Linked DNA regions of Homo sapiens: regions 1 and 3 are each linked to region 2. Evidence: promoter capture Hi-C in human tissues and cell types (Jung and others, 2019). All regions are on one chromosome and are shown on one strand. The core of a region is centred on a gene start or on the middle of the fragment in contact, and the rest is flanking DNA. Distances in the headings are between cores, read along the strand shown. Region 1 overlaps STK3 (serine/threonine kinase 3). Region 2 holds the start of KCNS2 (potassium voltage-gated channel modifier subfamily S member 2). Region 3 has its middle 22 kb from the start of MIR9903.

Region 1 (3,118 bases), core at 226-2,725, 42 kb after region 2:
TAACAATTTAAATTATACTATCTTCATATCATAAAAATGTAAATATTTGTTTCTTGAAAATCTATAAAGTAGTTTTAAAATGAAAGAGGTTAGCTAAAACCCACAAATCATGCAATTTAGATTGTAATAGATAATTTTTAATAGTGAAGCAACATCTAGAAATAAACAAGAGTCTCATATTTTAGTTTCGAAGCATCTAAATCCACAGTTCATTTAAAACAGTTCAGAATAAGAATCGTGGTCTGTTAACTATTTTTAAAACAATAAAACTCAAAATATGCCAAAATGTTTCTAAAACACTTCAAAAGAAAAAATAAATTCGATCATAGTTCTGCATTCTCACTTGCCACATGGGCCTTAGAAGATAAAATGTACCAAAAAGGAAACATTTTAGCATTCTCAATTTTAGAATGGCATGGTTTGTGGCTGAAACAATATTTAATTTTCCCAGCTACTGACAGACAAATGTACAAATTAAACTAAAACACCCATGAAGAGATTCAGATATTTGTAAGGACACAAGAAAAAAGGATAGGAGGCTCTTATGAAAATGTTTAAAAAGCAAAATTGATTTTGTCTACCTTAATAATAAATAAGCTGTCTTGTGCAAACTTAAAAGCAAAATCGTCGCCTGAATGAAACTGAGATTCTATTGTTTTTTCATTAATATTTGTTTTAAAATATGCTCACAAATGCTATGAATTTAAGGTAAAAGAAGGTAGAGAATGAGAATAAATGAACATAAGTCCTGCTAGTTATTAACTTAGATGTGTCTCATGGGGGAAGAATCAACTTTCAAATGTAAATGTTTCAAATCTTCAACTTTCTGAATTGGGGAAAGGACAACAGTGTTTGTGGGTTATGTCAGCATTTTAGACTGCGCAACTAATATGCAGAAATCACAGAAAATAAAGATGAGAGCCGGGCATGGTGGCTAACGCCTGTAATCCCAGCACTTTGGGAGGCTGAGGCAGGCGGATCACGAGGTCAAGAGATCGAGACCATCCTGGACAACATGGTGAAACCCTGTCTCTACTAAAAATACAAAAATTAGCTGGGCGAGGTGGCGGGTGCCTGTAGTCCCAGCTACTCGGGAGGCTGAGGCAGCAGAATCGCTTGAACCTGGGAGGCGGGGGTTGCAGTGAGCTAGGATCGTGCCACTGCACTTCAGCCTGGTGACAGAGTGAGACTCCATCTTTAAAAAAAAAAAGAAAGAAAAGAAAGATGAGAAAGTAATATGCCACCATTACTTCCAAAAGGCTGAGTAAACATTGATTACAAACTAAAATTTTCACACTTAGATGATTATAATACACGAATGGTCCAAAAAGGCTTTTCTTTGCGGGGGCGGGGGGGCGGTCTGAGAATGGCGCCAAATTAGATTTTTAGAAACTGTTTTTCGGTATCAACTAATTTAATAGAGAACATGGCATCAAAATTTTATCTCTAATAATACCTTGCAAAATGAGTGTGTTCCCAAATGTTCCTGCAAGTCTTCAGCGCTGGGGCTGGACCAAGCTGCACCTCTTGCAAAGGCAGCAAGGCTTTGGTTTTATCCTCCCTTGAGCCAGACACCTGCCTTCTGAGTGGCCTCACTACTAATGTGGACATGGAAGCAGAGGCAGAGAACTGAGGTTGGGGGACAGCACAAAGAATGGCTGATCTTACTTTACATCTACTGGGAAGCCGGGAGACTGTGGTCATGAGTGGAAATTTGGGGATCAGAATTTCAGCTCTGGTTTGAATAATATACATTAATATGGAGTAGTTTTGCTAGTAAATCTTCACATTTTTATTTTACAAGATGAAATTTCAGTTCAGTCTTAAAAAGTCCATTTTAATAAGGATAAAAGGAAAAATGCATCTTTAATTATTGACCATATGAAAGACATATTGTTGGTTTACCTCCTGTGGAAAAAGTAATAACACAGCTATGTGGCTGCTGAATTCAATGTGCTCTTGAGGAACTTTCCAAAAAATATTAGTAACTGACTGACATACACTGTTATTCAAGGAAGAGCTTATCCACTGGATAATTATTCTGAAACTGGTTTATATTCACATACAATATATGTAACTCTCAATCTGAAATAAATGACCCAGCAGACCTAGTGCTGAGCTGCTAGTACCTGGTACTAACAGATCCTAGAATTCTCCAAAGCATTCTTAGACAAGAACACCGTGAGTGAACTTTCCATTATTAGAGTCAGAGTAGCGGTGCAATACCAGAAATGATCAACTAATTTTGAAAAATACCACATGCAAAGAAATTACCTTCAAACTGCCAAAAACACTGCAAGCTGGTCCACACAACACTGCCCATTTCTGGATACCCATGATTTACCTAAGTTCTTCTAGCCTATTTTCAGTTAGGAATGCCCATTTGAATGAACCTCCTCCTGCTACAGTTCTCTTAACCACAGTGCATGATCTTGTGACTCTGTCAGGTCCACCCTAGCCCTGCCACCGCCAACCCACAGATCTCTTCTAATTACCCCAGTTGTGAGAGACAGTCATAGTCTTAATCATTTTCTTTTCACAGGGGTGTTCACTGCCTCATCTCACCCGTACTCAGTACAAGGCCTTTTAAGTAGGCCACCCTCACTCTCACAGTTGTTTCTATAGTCAGAATAGTCAGCTGTGCTGGACCAAGCTGTCAAAAGAAGGGAGAGATAACTCTTAAATACTGAGGAAATTGCAGATTCTGCTAGCTATTTTTTAATTTTTCAATGACCAGAAACTGTCTTTCATTGGTCTTTAGTGAGTGTCATCCTTAATTATATCAACTAATTTTAAAGATGACATTTTTCCTAGACAATTTTGCTAGGGTGACAGCATAAGCTTCCCCAACCCTTGGTAAATCTCTGCTCTAAGTATAAAAAACAAGACACTGTTTACTGACTCTTAAGAGGTGTGGGTTTTTAATCTTGCAGGGTGACCAAGTGTTGAATATTTGGTAACAATTTCGTAAAATCTTTTATATCCCACTTAGAAATTAACTGATAGAACACCTGAGGGAGAGTGGTAAAAGTGGAAGCAGTACAACAGAATAAAATTAAATGATCCTAAATCAACTGCAATGTACCAAAGCCTTCTGAATAGGCAGGTGGCTTCTGAA
Region 2 (3,118 bases), core at 540-3,039:
GGGCTCCCAGACTGCAGCCAGGTGTGTGGGAGCCACAGACCTCCAATGATGGACCCAGCAGACCTAGATAGAGGCTGCTGTCCACACACAGACCCTGAAAGAAAGGGAGATGAAGACAAGGATAACCAAGATCAGATTTTTCTCCGTCTCTCCCTCTCAGACACACACACACACACACACACACAAACACACTGGGAAATAAAGGGTGGCTTGTGTGTGTTTGAGGGTAGGGCAGAATGGAGGACTGGATTCCTCTTTTAGGGACCTGAAGAAAAGTTTCCCAAAGCCTGGGGAAAGGTCATACACAAGAAAGAGGAAGTGTGTGTGGCCCTCACTACCCTACTATCCCTCTCCCATGTGGCTGCCTCTGTGGAATCCACCACATTTGCAGAGGCCTGCAGGGGCATGGGTGTGAAGCCCTCTCAGCAGGAAACACACCTGCATTCACACCCACACACATGTCCAGAAGCCAGTGGGTCACAGGGATGGGTCAGACTTGGATGCAGGAGCCCCCATTCGAAGCCAGATTAACGGTCCTCTACAGGTCCTCCAAGGAGGCCCCAAGCCCTCCAGAGCTACACAGAGCACCTTTTCAGCTGGGACGGCATTGCCAGGATTGCGTAAAGAAAGAATGTACTTCCCACTGTGGCAGTGGTGGTTGCACCATGAATCCAGAGCCACCCTGCAAGGGCATTCCCAGGACTTCTGACCGAGACATGTAGACGCTAGCTCCCTGCTAAGCTCACACAACCACGGTGCTCCAGTCTTTGCAAGTGGACACCACAGAGAAACACCAAAGGGAGGGGGCTCCCCAGGGACTGGGTCCATTTCTCAGCTCAGCCCAGTAGGCAGGGCCTTAAGGACAATCCCAGCAGACCAAGAGCTCAGATCTGGGCCACGAGTCTTCTTAGGAATAGGGACACAGATCCTGAGCACATCTACCAGTCCCCACTCCAGCTTGAACCCCCCAGTCCCCACTGTCGGCAAGCACACCGCTCTCAACATATTCCACACACATGAGCCCGTCACAGTCCCAAGAGTACTACACTGTACACAGCACATGTACACACAGCACACGGTTCCCCATGCCACACACTGCGCTGACACACGTCCCAGGTCCCCCCTGTGCCGACGCATCTTCCCATCCGACAGAGGACCCATTTTAATGAACGCGGTACACACAGACACTGAAAAGTCCTGCTGTCCTCAGCCTACATACACACACAGCGCCCTGCAGTCCCGCACAGCCAGCACACCACACCGGCCTGGACACAAACTGTGCCCACACAGAGCTCCCGACCAGAACTCAGCGACTCCCGCCCCCGCCGTGCGGCCTGCGCTCCCGCCCCCCGCGTACTAAGCCGATCTCCACCTTGGACTTCCCGGCCCCCTCTTTTCCCCTCCAGCTCCTGTTCCCCAACAACCCCACCCCCGGGCTTCGGGAAACTTTTCTTCAGGTCCCTAAAAGGGGACACCTGGAGTTCCTCCGGTCCCGCCCTGTCCCCGGACACGCGCAAGCCGCCCTTTATTTCCCAGCCCAGCTCCCGCCAGACCCAGCGGGGAAAGGTCACCGTAGGCAGCCCCCTGCCTGCGCCCTGGGGGTGGTGATAATAACAGCTGTCACCGGGGGATGGTCGGGGGGAAGGGAGAGGTGTCGGCCCCGCGCCGAGCCGGGGGCGCAAGGTGGTCGCGGTGACGCGCCGGGGAAGCGCAGAGAAGCAGCGGCGGCGGCGGCTGCGCCTTCCGAGCCCGGGCGGCGGCCGAGGCACGCGGAGCTGTCCGTTCAGCACCACCGCGCCGCGCCCCGCGCAGGGCGGGCGCCCCGTCACACCCGCTCTGCTCCCGCCCCGGCTCACGGGGCGAATGCGGCGCGGGTTCCTGCCTCTCTGGGTGGGTGAGGGGCGCGCGGATCCGGAGAGGGGGCTCCGGGAGCGGCGGGACCACGCAGCCACCTGTGAGCCTTCGGCAGCTGCGGGCGGCGGCGGCGTACCCGGCCCGAGACGGGAGGAGACGCTCGGCGGCCCCCGCCCGCCGGCCCGCCGGGCGCACACACTCGCACCCGCGCACGCACCGCCAGCAGGCAGCGGCCACCGCCGCGATGCTCGCCCGCGGGTTGGGGAAGTTTCCCGCCGGCCTCGGCCGCGGGCACCCGTGCTCCCAGGTAAGCGCTTCCAGAACGCGCAGGGCGAGCCCGGGCAGCCCCGCTGGGTGAGGCGCAGCGCACGCGGCCCCGGGGCATAGCGCCAGGCCGGCAGGGAGACCTGGGCCGGGGACGCGGGGGCTGCAGGCGTGGGATCTGGACCCAGGGGAGGCCGGGCCGCCCCCCTCATTCCCGCGGCCCGGGTTTCCAGACTCCAGCGCATCCCCCCCACCCCACCAAAGCTACGCGCCCCCCGTGTCGGCCCGGCCCTGCCCGTGCGTATCTCAGCTCCGGTCCCGCCTGTCTGCGGCGAGCGGGCGGGGGCGTCTCCCGGGCCTGCCCATGGACAAGGTCAGCATGCAGCCCCCTGGGCGCTCAGAGCCGCGGGGACGCGACCCCGCACGCGCAAAGCGCCCACCGAGACCCCTGGGGTGGAGCTGTGCTAATAGAAACATACCCACCCCCAGCCTTTCCTGGGAGGGGATCAGACCCCTCAAACTCTTGCCCCAGCCCAGCCCTTCAGCACCCAAGACCCACCAGGAGGCCTGGGCCCGCCAGTAATGGGTAGGGAGAGGGGGCCCCGCCAGGGCGCACGGCGCTCTCGCCGACGCTGTTCCCTCCGCTTCCAGGTGTAGCGCCCCCGCGCGGCGCGGGCGGCCGGCGCCTCCAGCATGACCGGCCAGAGCCTGTGGGACGTGTCGGAGGCTAACGTCGAGGACGGGGAGATCCGCATCAATGTGGGCGGCTTCAAGAGGAGGCTGCGCTCGCACACGCTGCTGCGCTTCCCCGAGACGCGCCTGGGCCGCTTGCTGCTCTGCCACTCGCGCGAGGCCATTCTGGAGCTCTGCGATGACTACGACGACGTCCAGCGGGAGTTCTACTTCGACCGCAACCCTGAGCTCTTCCCCTACGTGCTGCATTTCTATCACACCGGCAAGCTTCACGTCATGGCTGAGCTATGTGTCTTCTCCTTCAGCC
Region 3 (3,441 bases), core at 913-3,412, 55 kb before region 2:
GCCTCACAGTCAGACATCAAAAATGGGATTTTGATTTTTTTTTTTTTTTTTTTTTACAAGCTGGGAAGCAGCAACAGATCCAGTTTGTCTCTAAGGCCCATCAAGCCTCTCCCTAACACCAGTAGCCCCCGGGAACCCTGGGCCTCCCAGGTCTTTAATGTTTGTTGGGTGGGGGCTGAAGTGACTTCAGCATTCTCAGGCCAGTGGACCAGGAACTTTCATTCTTTTAGGAACTAGAGAGGCCTGTTAAAAATATATCCTAACTCCACAGACCCCCTGACCTCTGCAGTGTGTGTGTGTGTGTGTGTGTGTGTGTGTGTGTGTGTGTGTATCCTTAGAGAACACTGGCTTTAACACTGATCCCAAGCTTCAGAGTCTTGCATAATGAAATGACTGGGCATCTTAATCAGAACAGACTCATCTTATGCCTGAAAAGCCGAAATATGCTAGAGAGGACTGGGTGGTAGCTCCATAGGTAAGGACCATCATCTCCCGGCTACTCAGCAAGTGCACATAAACCCAAGGATGAGTAGGACTAAAACCAAGAAGACACAGTGGGGTGTCAGCACAAATGTGTGCCAGCCTTCTGAGCTGGACTCAGGGGCCCACATCATCCAGGAATGCTGACATTACCTCTCTTGTTCTTGGAACCAGCTTCCCTTTGCATAAGGTTCAGAGCCAGATAAAATGTAAGCTTGTCTACTTAGAGTCACAGTTTTGAAATTGTAAATGGTATCAAGGAGATGAGGTCTTGGGATCCAAACAAGTCAGGTTAAATCCCATCTGGATGATCTTTGGTTGTTTTCTTTACACCCGAGTCTCAGTTTCCTCACCTGAAAAATGCAGATGCTAGGACCATACAAAATATTGTAAAATGTAGGGGTATTATATGTGAAAGACTTTGCCTAGAGTAGGCACTTAACACTTACACTATATTTTAGGAAAGAGATTGGGAGCTCTGGTAAGATCTCAGACCACTGGACCCAAAATGTTCCTAGGATGTTGAAGGTCCCAGAGGAGCACCCAGGACAGAAAAGAAACAAAACTTACTACATTGTTACATGGTTGTTTGTGCCTGCAGGACAAGACTTGATCTTGTTATTCATTGCATCCCCAGGGCCCAGCCTAAAGCCACTTGTGTAGTAGGTGCTCAATAAACATTTGCCGAACTGGTGAAGTGGTAACTGGTTTATCCATCCCTCTGATCCCATCCAGTAAGGACGAGAAAGAGAAATTAACACATATCAAATACTTGCTATGTGTACTTCCCTGTACATAACATAATTTCACTCTCACAACACTGAGTTAAGTATTTATGGTCCCATTTTAACAGATGAGGAAAACCGAGGCTCCAAGAGCTTTGAAATAATACTCCTAAGGTTAACTAGCTAGTGAGTGCTGGAGCAGGGCTTTCATTCGAAAGCACATGTTCTTTGTAGGCTGCTGGATCGCAAGTGCAGTAGGAGAAAGCACAAGGGCGGTACATCAGAGGGGAGCCAGCAGCAGGAATGTCACTCTGATATTTTCTTCTTCAAACATTCAACTCTCCTCAACCAAAACACTTCCCAGATGCTTCCAGGACCTGGCAAGTCTTCAGTCACAAAGCTAGGGATAGTCCCCACACCTGCAGGAGAACAGAACTTTAGAGGCTGACCCCTCAAGATTATGCTTTTTAACTTGTCTAAGGGCCACTGCTGGAACCTTCGTCTCAGTTGCATTGAGGGCTCTAGGGCCACATGAGACAGTACTTTTACCCTATACCAAGTCCTAGGACATAGGACATGGTGGTGTTATGGCTTGAATTGTCTCTCCCCAAATTGCGTGTTGAAGTCTGAACCCCTAGTACCAGTGGAAAGTGACCTTATTTGGAAATATGGTCTTTGCAGATCTAATCAAGTTAAGATAAAGTCATACTGAGTGGGATCAGGGGGAGGGGGGTCCTTAAACCGAATATGACTAGTGCCCTTTTAAGATGAGGGAAATGTGGACACAGACACCCACACAGGGAGAACACCATGTGAAGACAGAGGCAGAGGTTGGAGTAATGCAGTTGCAAGGCATGGAATATGAAGGATTGCCAGCTGCCATCAGAAGCTAGGCAAAGGCAAGGAAAGAGTCTCAGACTCTGGGTCTTAGAGGGAACATGGCTTGCTGACACCTTCATTTCAGACTTTTAGCCTCCAGAACTGTGGGAGAATCCATTTCTGTTGCTTTAAGCCACTCAGTTTGCAGTACTTTGTTAAGGAACCCTGGGAAACTAATGCAGAGGGCTCTTCAGGGCAGCCTCCAAGTTCCAGAGCCTTATGCCTCAGCCATCAGCTGGGGAGGCCCGCAGACTCCAACAGCCAGGACGCCACAGCTCCCCGGCCCCTCCACCCACTCCTGTGAGACGACGCAGACTTCAGCTCCAAACCCAGCTCTGCCCAGTGGGGTTTTTTGTTGTTATTTTTCCTAGGCTTTTCTACCTGAACACCCAGTGGTTTTTTGTTTTTTTTTTTCCCCTTAACTCTTGGCTCTGAACATCCTTCACTGACGTGAGAGATAATACAAACAGCTTTCTGTTAACATAAGCACCAACATCCTCGCTACTATTTATCCACTTCCACATTGTAGGCAGAGGGTCCAGAACATTGGCTCCGCTTCAGTCTGGGGAACAGAGGCTCTGGAGACTTTGTGCTGTGCACCAGGAGGAGGCAGAGCAGGATAATGAGAAGAGCATGGGTTGTGAACTCTAACAATTCACAGTCTAGCGCTGCTCCCTTCCAGCTGCGTGGCTTTGGGAAAGCGCTTGGTCTCTAAGCCTGGTGTCCTCATTTACAATGTGAGAAAAATAACACCATGCCCTGAGGTTATGATGAGAATTGAATGAGATAATGTGCATGAAGTAACTGATAAATATTATCAGTCTTACTCTGGTTATAATGGTTGCTATTATTTCTTCTTTATAATTAACTTCCCTGAAATGGAATTTCACCATGAATTAAAGCACTGTAGGAGGGGAAAGACAGAGAGAGTCAGATGAGGGGAAGGAAATTCGTTGGGTCTGCCCAGCCTATATTGTGATTATTTGAGAACAGCCCCTCCCACCAGAGTTGGTGCTCCATAAATGGCAGTTATTATTCTTGCTTTTTTTGTGATTGCTGTTTATGAGTTTCTGTTTTTGAGCCATATCAGTGCCCTTAACATCTCCTTCTGTGTCCGAGCCAGATGATTGGATCTTTTCCCCAATCTCTACCCTCCTGTAACAGGATTCTAGATCCACATTCTTTTCCATGTAAAGTGCATTTCCTCCCACCGTGGGCAGAGTGTGCTTTCTACATGACTTGGTTTGGCCAATGAAATGTCATCAGTCATGACATTTACTTATGGTCTGGCTTATTCTCTTACATTCCTGATAATGTCTATTGAACATGTGTGTGCTGGGCATTGAGCTAAATGTTC

What was found. Contacts are between HindIII fragments. The study calls those that stand out against the background at their distance.
Region 1: a fragment that was not itself captured here is called in contact with the fragment with the promoter of KCNS2 in region 2 in 1 of the 25 tissues and cell types used here (H1 embryonic stem cells).
Region 3: a fragment that was not itself captured here is called in contact with the fragment with the promoter of KCNS2 in region 2 in 2 of the 25 tissues and cell types used here (H1 embryonic stem cells and stomach).

What each region holds. Positions count from the first base shown.
Region 1 is chr8:98,467,910-98,471,027 of GRCh38, forward strand. The region is part of intron 10 of STK3 (serine/threonine kinase 3); the gene reads right to left. Among named protein-coding and RNA genes, the nearest start is that of KCNS2, 43 kb to the left of the region's middle. The HindIII fragment of the contact is 7,225 bases long and covers 1-3,118 here.
Region 2 is chr8:98,425,169-98,428,286 of GRCh38, forward strand. KCNS2 (potassium voltage-gated channel modifier subfamily S member 2) reads left to right here and starts at 1,790. Exons shown (of 2, transcript NM_020697.4): 1 at 1,790-2,161; 2 at 2,770-3,118. The coding sequence starts at 2,812. It also overlaps a transcript of STK3 not described here. RefSeq lists a silencer at 1,690-1,889. The HindIII fragment of the contact is 18,533 bases long and covers 1-3,118 here.
Region 3 is chr8:98,370,055-98,373,495 of GRCh38, forward strand. It overlaps a transcript of STK3 not described here. Among named protein-coding and RNA genes, the nearest start is that of MIR9903, 22 kb to the right of the region's middle. The HindIII fragment of the contact is 4,822 bases long and covers 1-3,441 here.